2 separate regions of the Homo sapiens genome follow, and region 1 is linked to region 2. Evidence: promoter capture Hi-C in human tissues and cell types (Jung and others, 2019). All regions are on one chromosome and are shown on one strand. Each heading gives the region's core, a stretch centred on a gene start or on the middle of the fragment in contact. The rest is flanking DNA. Distances are from core to core; before and after follow the strand shown.

Region 1 (4,210 bases), core at 1,537-4,036, 38 kb before region 2:
AAATATTTCCCAGATAAGTCTATCTTTAAGGAACTTCAGAAGAGATAATCCTGAAAATGTCCACACGATAACTATGGTTTTTACTTTTCTTGCTAACATATAACACTGTTCCCTCTTCTTACATTCAAGGAAGAAAAAGGAACATCCAGTACCCATTAACTCCCTGAAGGCAACTGTATCTTTATCTTTTCTGTCTACTGAATATTTCTAATTCCTTTAATCTTTCTTTAGAATCCCATTTTGAAACGTGTGAGAGACTATTAATGATCCCTAAATCTTCCGCAGTTTTTCTATATTTTCTTAATAATTTCAGCTCTAAACTTTGAAAATAAAAGTGAAAAATTAAAACTTTTTATCAGTGATTCATAATTATAACAGGTATCAATATTAGAATCATATTATTTTTAAAAATAAGAGCACTATATTGCATACTGTTTAAAAAAGACTGCATATTGGATCTGTGAGCCCAGGATCCAGGGAAGAAATTCTGGATCAAGTTGGCATGTCTCTTTAACTTAGTTATTTCCTTCATTTCTGCCATTTTTTTCCTTGTATACTTTTAATAGGAAAGACGATATGTATAAGGCTCATTTTTTTTCACCTTTTTAAAACTATATTCCTATCTTAACCAGGAAATTGGGTTTCTGATATAGAAACTTTACAACACAAAACATTTATGCATCTAGGATATAAGATTTTCTCCATCATCAAATTAAAAGGGTTTTGATTTGGAAATACAGTCCAAAGGGGGAAAAAACCACCATTAAAGTGAAAGTTATGTCAAAATAACCAAACCATCAAAGGCTTATTTCTGTTTTTTTAAGAGAGAAATATATTCATGTCTATCTGCTATAAACCCCAAATGAATGAATCCTTCAGGACTCACTTCCCTTGATAATAAATCTGCAATGTTAAAAAAAAATCCAAAGTAACAAATTTTATAATCATTGGGGACTTGGATACTTGGAAACTCAGTCTAAGGGCTGAAATGAAAGAAAAAGACCAGTAAATTGCTAGTTTGATGGTAGAGGGGATGGTGGCAGTGGTTAAAGGGTGACTGATAGTAGGGAAGGCAGGATCAGGAAGGCAAAGATAGCAGACCTTTGTCTGTAACACAATACAGCACGTGTGTGTGTGTGCATATCTGTGTGTGTGTGTGTTGGTGGGTGGGGGTGGTGAAAGTAATGGCAGCAGCAGAGGCAAAGCCAAGAGTGATGGTGGCAGGAACGGCAATGAAAGAAACAACACACGATGCACGATACTTGGCATGTTTGTAGTCTGGAGGCAAGATTTAAAGAAAATCAAAAGTTGGTAGTCAAATGAGAGGAAATCAAGTCCACTAAGCTAAATGAAGAGTCAAGTCAGAGAACCAGCTCCAAGACAAGTACCATAGAATACAACTGAGATTAGACACAATGTCATATCCATCAACGTTCAAAAGCAGGAGGAGCAAGGGGCTGCACACAGGAGTGCTGAATAAATTCCAATGCATGTTTTATTGCAGCTGCAACTGTCTTTTAATAATGTAGCTGAAAAAGCCTCATCTTCCTTCATTCAATCTTAAAGGGCTTCTGGTCACAGTGAGTAATCAGGTCTTTACAGTAGATGACCAAGTCCTCTCAGAAAGCAGTAGTTATGGCCACAATAGACACATGTGGTATTGGCAGTGACAGACAATACCAACAGCTGAACATCTAGCTGTGATAATTAAGAAACCAGGGGATAAAGAGCAGGAGGAAGCAACAGTCAAATTATTCCAAGTATAGGTACTTTCTAAACAGATCACGACTTGGGAATTTTCCTCAGGTTTCTCATCTTATTTCTACATCCAAAAATGGAATCTTGACAGTCAAATGTTTTATGTAGTGCTTCTTATTGCTAATGTCTGAGTCAGTCATGCAGGAATCAGAATCTACTTCAAGAAGTTTTAATAAGGATGACTTTAGATCTGGACAGGGTGAAGAAAAATAAAAAGGAACATTGCAGCACCAAGGGAATGACAATAGAAAGAGGTTATGACTGGCCTAAGGGCAAGAGAAAAATAGTGTTACTGGAGTACAGTTAGAGCTGGAGGCATAGAAAAAGGCCACCCAACCTGGGTCATAGTGATAAAAAGATGTAGTAACTGCTAGAAATCATGGCTTAGAGCAGGAAAGAATGGCGGGGATGGGGTTTTAACCCAAACTCTCTCTCTTACACTCTGTTCTCCTACCATTGTCTTGCATTTGTTGGATTTTTAAAAGAAGCCAACTATCAAGGGGGCCTGGGTGGATGTAACTTATAGAAGTCAAGGTTAGCTTCTCAAGGCATACAACAAGACAAAGAAGAGGAGAACATGGATCTGGCTGGGTTGAGTTACAGATAAAAACCTGTAGATATGGAATTAATGGGACACATAGTTAAACCACGCCTAAAATTAATGCTCTTGGTCACAAACACACAGTCTTCCCTATTTGACTTCCCTAATGTAAGGTCCTCAAATCATGACAGATGGGTCATGAGTGGTAGGAAATTAAGAGTTATTAAAACATGTTCCAGAACTCATGTGTGTGCCATACATTATTTGCCAAAGAATGGGAGCCACTAACCAGAATAAACAAAATTGTGTGAGGTGGAGCAGTCTTCCGTTTGTTTATAACTACTCTGAAATAATTTTAATATTGGGAAATATATTCTAGATGTTTCCTTCTTAGCATATTTGGATGGTGACAATGAAAAATTGTTTTGCTTTTAATGCTGGTCATTTAAAACTGATTTCTTAATTTCTTAGCAAAGGCTAAATAATCATTTCTGTCTTTTCTTCTCAACAAGTGCTGGGTTCACTCAGTGTTTGGTAAATTGATGTAAAAAGCGAGTTATAGACATGCTCTAATAACATACATCATGTGTTGTTTGATTTTGTTCTTGCGGCTGTAGGTTAATCAGTTTGGTTTGGGGTTTAGTTACAAAGAACAGAGAGTCAGTTTGATATCAGTGGTTCTTTCTGACCCAAAAGCCATTATTTCTTCTTTAAAATATTCTTCTCTCATTAAAAATGATGTCAGCCTTCCTTGTTGACTAAATGCATCGTATAGACTTTTACTAAAGTTTTCTTTCTTATTTTTTTTCTTTAAAGGGAGTCTTGCTCTGTTGCCCAGGATGGAGTGCAGTGGCATGATCTCAGCTCACTGCAGCCTCTGCCTCCCAGGTTCAAGCAATTCTCCCGCCTCAGCCTCCTTAGTAGCTGGGACTACAGGCGTGCACTGCCACGCCTGGCTAATTTTTGTATTTTTAGTAGAGATAAGGTTTCACCATGTTGGCTAGGATGGTCTTGATCTCCTGACCTCGTGATATGCCCCCACCTCAGTCTCCCAAAGTGCTGGGATTACAGGCGTGTGCCACCGCACCCAGCCTACATTTTTTTTTCTAAAAATGACTTTATTGAAGTGATTATAAATATCACAACATAACGCTTCCGTGAACATAAGATTTTCATATATGTGTGTGTATGTATATATCATCAAAAGAGAATCAAACTTTGTAACATAAAAACATTATATATTTAAGTGAAAATAATAGCTGAAAAAGGGAAAGAAATTTTCAAAAATAAAATCAGTTTTTCTATGGCAGGTTATGGGGGTAGAAGGAGAAAAAGTGTACACTCAAAGCATGGTTAAAGGATTATGCCAGCTTGTCAAAACTATACTGCATATTGTATGGCTAAAAGTATTAAAATTGTTCAACAGAAAAATCAATGGAACAAAAGAGGTAAGTCATGACTATGGTGGATGGTCAGGAAACAGAATTGCTGTTTTGCCGTGGGAGCTTTTGTTACTACTTTTCTAACACTTCAGTGATTGAAAGGAAATCAAACTGCGAGAACTTACTGCCACTCCAGTGAGCCCTGGGGGATTTGTCACAAATTTGGAACTTGAGTGGCCTCAAGCTTCACAGGTCTGCTCCTCAGAAGTGTCAGAAAGCAAAGAGAAAGCAGAGAATTAGTGACACGGAACTGAGCAACTACGTATTTTCAAATGGTGGGTGAATTTCAGGCCACCTTTTAAGTTTTACATTAGACCAAATGACCAAAAAATTTCCTCTAAAGCATGTGCTACACTTAGGAGTTTCCAACAACAACCATTATTTGGCAGCTATTCACAGATAATTCTGAACCTACTCTTGCCTAATAGAAAGCTTCTTAAACACTGAAAATTGGATAAATAACTACAAA
Region 2 (4,028 bases), core at 992-3,491:
ATAATAAAGAATTATCAAGATAAACCATTACTATGTTAAAAACTGTTTCAATACATGAAAACCCAGAGAGATACGTCACTCAAAGCTATATCTGTATTAATATTGTCTCACAAAAAGTTGTCAATAGCATTAAAATGTATGTGAAAAATTTTATAAAAAACTCAGATCTCAGATTTATAACTGTATTTTATAGTTCTAGCTACTTAATTATCCTATAAAGAAAACCAGAAACAGCTAGTTTAATGTAATTTGAAGGGATATGTAGATCTTGGCACTGGATAACCATGTGAAAATAGTAAAAGCAGAATAAAATATAAGAATTTCAGAGTTGGAAGAGACTTTGGAGAGTGATCCAAGAAAGTCATCCAGGAATGCATAGGGTCATCAGGCCTTCCAACACCCTGCAAATGAAACCAATGGAGTTCTCAGCCTACCTTCTTTAAGTGTATATTTCACCTTCAACTTCAAAGCCATTCAAACATTTACATTTGAAAATATGTTATTACTAAATGTAAGTGGAAAATTTCACAAAATAAAACTATACTGAGGGAATAAAGAAAAGATTGACAGCAAGTACTTTGGGGGTGGAAGAAGGGAGACAATGGGAAGGACGGGAACTAAAGAAGCTTTTCTTACTCCACACTACTGGAACTCTAGTAGAATCTGCTGAAAGATTGACTCCCTCAATTTCTGCTTATGTTAAGAGGATTGGGAAGACTAACTGCAGAATAGCAGGCTTACAGAAAACAGTTACTTCTTTTAATCAAACCATGTAATCAGAAGGCCTGAGTAATGATTAACTTCCACTTTCTCTGTGAATCACTCAATCACTCTGCAGTGCAAGTAGACTTAGATTCATTCTCTGCCAAAGGCACAGTAAATTTAATGTTTTTGCATTTAACATTTAATATTTTAAATATATGAATGGCCCTTGCTTCTGAGCTCATTTCAAAAACCTTGTGTTCTGCTAGGTTACAATGGCTGATAGAAATGCTGAGACATTTTATAGGTTTTACACTCAAACATAGGTACACATACCCTTTCTCAGTGACATTTTAATATCTATGATCCTATTAATAATTGAGCACAATTAATGGTGAGAAATGCATTAAGACCCTGTAATTTTCATGTACAGCATGACAACTCAATTGACTTAAGCAAAAATAGTCTACCGGAGTTTGAGTATAAAAAGAGGGAAAATGAGTATATTAACTACCTGTAAAAATGCAGAGTAACAGATACTGGGTTAACTATACGAATTCACGTTTCCCAAGTGTTATATGTATCACTATGGCCCTGGAAATGCAAAAAGAAATAGTACCTTTGTGGAGGCCAACTGTTCATGATTTAGAATTATCACAAATGAATCAAATATTGGACATGTAATATCCCTCATCTCTATAACACACTAACAACCTCCTCTGGAAGAAATTATTCCCAATGCAAAATCTCAACCTAAATAATTTTAAATTCAGGTGGTTTTTCATTTCTACTCACAAGGCATTGTGTTGAGGCGGGCAGGAGTCGGTGGAGAACGGTTTAAATGTTTGGAATACCTTCTCTTCCCAGGAGAGTTTATTGCCCAATAATGCATAATATATTAGTTGCTCAACGCGGGGGATCTAGGGAGTGACATCTTGACTGGAAACACACAGATCTGAAAACCACCTCTCAGGAAACGTTGTGGGGAAGAAGAGCAACTTTCTTATCCCTGTCAAACTAACCGGCGGAACCAACCCCAGAACTAGCCGGAGGGCCTGGGGAGAGCAGAAGGCTGAAAGCAGCTCCTCTGCGCTCCGCCGAGGGTTCAGGCAAGGGTTTTCTTCTGGAGGCGGCATTGTTCCTCCATCTGCTCAGCCTCCGTATTTCGCCAGGAAACCCTCCCCGCTTTCTCGTAATCTGTTCCTTATTTCTTTTGTACCTCTCAGCCGATTTCCATGCTCTTGGTCTCTGTGGTCCCAGGGCACAGCTCTAGGGTGAAGAGCTGCAGTGACTGGGGCGCCGCTCTAAGGCTTTGGAGGCGACTGCACTCCGCCCGGGCTCTGGCAGCGTGAGCGCCGCACAGTCGCTCGCTCCCTTCTCTCCGGTCTCTCCGGCTCGGACGGGCTCTCCCGGCCTCTCATCACCCACTCCGACTCGCCTTTCCTGCCGTGTCTCCCCACGCCAGCTCCGCGCGCTCGGCGCTGGCCGCCCGGGCGCGCTCTCCGCGCCGCCGCCTGATCCTCGGCTTACAGCCGCGGCGCTCCCCCGCCCGCCCACAGGCCGGGACTCCGAATTGAAGGGTCAACCCTCCGCGGGGAGGCGGGGAGGAGCGGCGAGGAGAGCTGGGGCAAGTGGGGAGCCGCGGGTGGGGGGACTGACGGGGGAACGGGAGAGTGAGGCCAAGAAGAAAGAAGATGCATCTGCTCCGAAGACGCCAATGAAGAAAGGACAGAGGGGGCAGGAGTGGAGTGGGGGAGAGAACGCCCACCAGGAGGGTGGGCAAAACGGGCAATTTACAAACTGCCGGGGCTGGAGATGCCGCGCGGAGGAGGAAAGAGGTTAGCGGCACAGAAGAAGAAATGAGGGGAAGTTCCCACATCTCCCCAAAAGGTCACGTTTGAAAACCGTGTCCCTTGAACGGGAGTTAAACAAGCGACTGGCCATGGTGTAAAAGGTGGATTTAAAAGGAAATTTAGTGTCATGTACTTATTTAGACACGGCTTCGTCTCGCTCAACTCTGGCAAATTACCCTCCAAGTAAAATGTATTGGTTTTATGCAGAAACGGAAGGCGAATCTCCTCCACTGTGGACTCCTCCTGAGATTGGTTTGTTTGCTGGTTATCTTTCTTTTTAAATGAAAAAAAGCGTTTGGGAGCTTCCATGAACCCCAACGCTTAAAAAAAACCACCCAGTTTATTAAAGTTCATTATTTTTTATTGCTTTTATTTTCATCAGAGGATAGGGTGAGGGACTGGCATCTTCAGATGTTTAAAACACTTATTTAGGTAGCATTATTTTTTATAAAGGACACGATTTCCTAAAACCGCCAGAAAGGCTATTGGAAAACTCAGCTACTAGCCTGGGAAAGAGAGACGCATTTAAACTCAAATAGACGATTATACCTCCAGCACCCCCCACCCCCACCCCAATGGGATTGGAAAAGGGTTGAGTTTACAGAAGAGAGAGAGCAGAGAAGGGTGGGTGGAAGGTGGGGAAGGCGAAGGAGAGGCAGGGAATAGGAAGTTCTCGGCAATCCCCGGGATTAAGGTAAACGCCGGAGCTCGGCGGACGCAGGAAGCTCCCTTACCTTTCTCTCTAAGCCCCGTTTGCACCTGATCTGCAACCATAAATACTTCGTGGTGCTTAGTGTGCAGCCAAACGATGGCCAAATGTTAAACAATTCTTCACGCTCCCTCCCCCTTTTAAAAAACAGGCTCAAAAGAATGTTAATAGTGTTCTTGTTATCCATCGGCTCCAAAACATTCCGTTTCGTGGGGAGGAGAGACGAAAACCAGGCCCTTGGGCACGCGTATATGTATTTATATATTATGCGGTCGGTATATAAACATATATACGTTTCCTGCATGTAAATCCAAAATGAAAAGCACCACAGATGCTTCTGTAAACGGGAGGGGACAGCGAAGAGCAAAACTTGGCAAGCCAAATGTATCCAGAGATTTCGTACCAGGAGCCACCTGCTTCAATATGCAGAATTTCCGAGAAGATTTAGAGGGAGAAGGAAAAAAATTAAAAATAAAATACCCAAAACACACACTTGAAACTGGAAGACACCTATGAAGCTTGGAAATGGAGAGGATGAGAAGATCTCCCGGGGCTACAGATCCTCAGCTAAGTGAGCAATCGCCTCCGAAAATCATAGGCGGGGAGGTGGCTGCAGATGCGTCCCCTGCTCCGGTCCCCGCCGCCGCCGCCGCCGCCGCCACTGCTACCTGTAGACACGCACACACACACGTACACGCGCGCACACACACTGCCACCTTCTCTCTCTCCCTCTCCCCTCACTCCGTGGCGTTGTCGGGTGCAGG

What was found. The method cuts DNA at HindIII sites, captures the fragments that hold promoters and counts their contacts. A contact is called where the count stands out against the background at its distance.
Region 1: a fragment that was not itself captured here is called in contact with the fragment with the promoter of NLGN1 in region 2 in 4 of the 25 tissues and cell types used here (H1 embryonic stem cells, adrenal gland, hippocampus and 1 more).

Annotation. Positions count from the first base shown.
Region 1 is chr3:173,434,735-173,438,944 of GRCh38, reverse strand. All of the region lies in intron 1 of NLGN1 (neuroligin 1), which reads right to left. Among named protein-coding and RNA genes, the nearest start is that of NLGN1, 39 kb to the right of the region's middle. The HindIII fragment of the contact is 8,103 bases long and covers 1-4,210 here.
Region 2 is chr3:173,395,957-173,399,984 of GRCh38, reverse strand. NLGN1 (neuroligin 1) reads right to left here and starts at 2,241. Exons shown (of 7, transcript NM_001365925.2): 1 at 1,922-2,241. RefSeq lists an enhancer at 3,473-3,972. The HindIII fragment of the contact is 5,603 bases long and covers 1-4,028 here.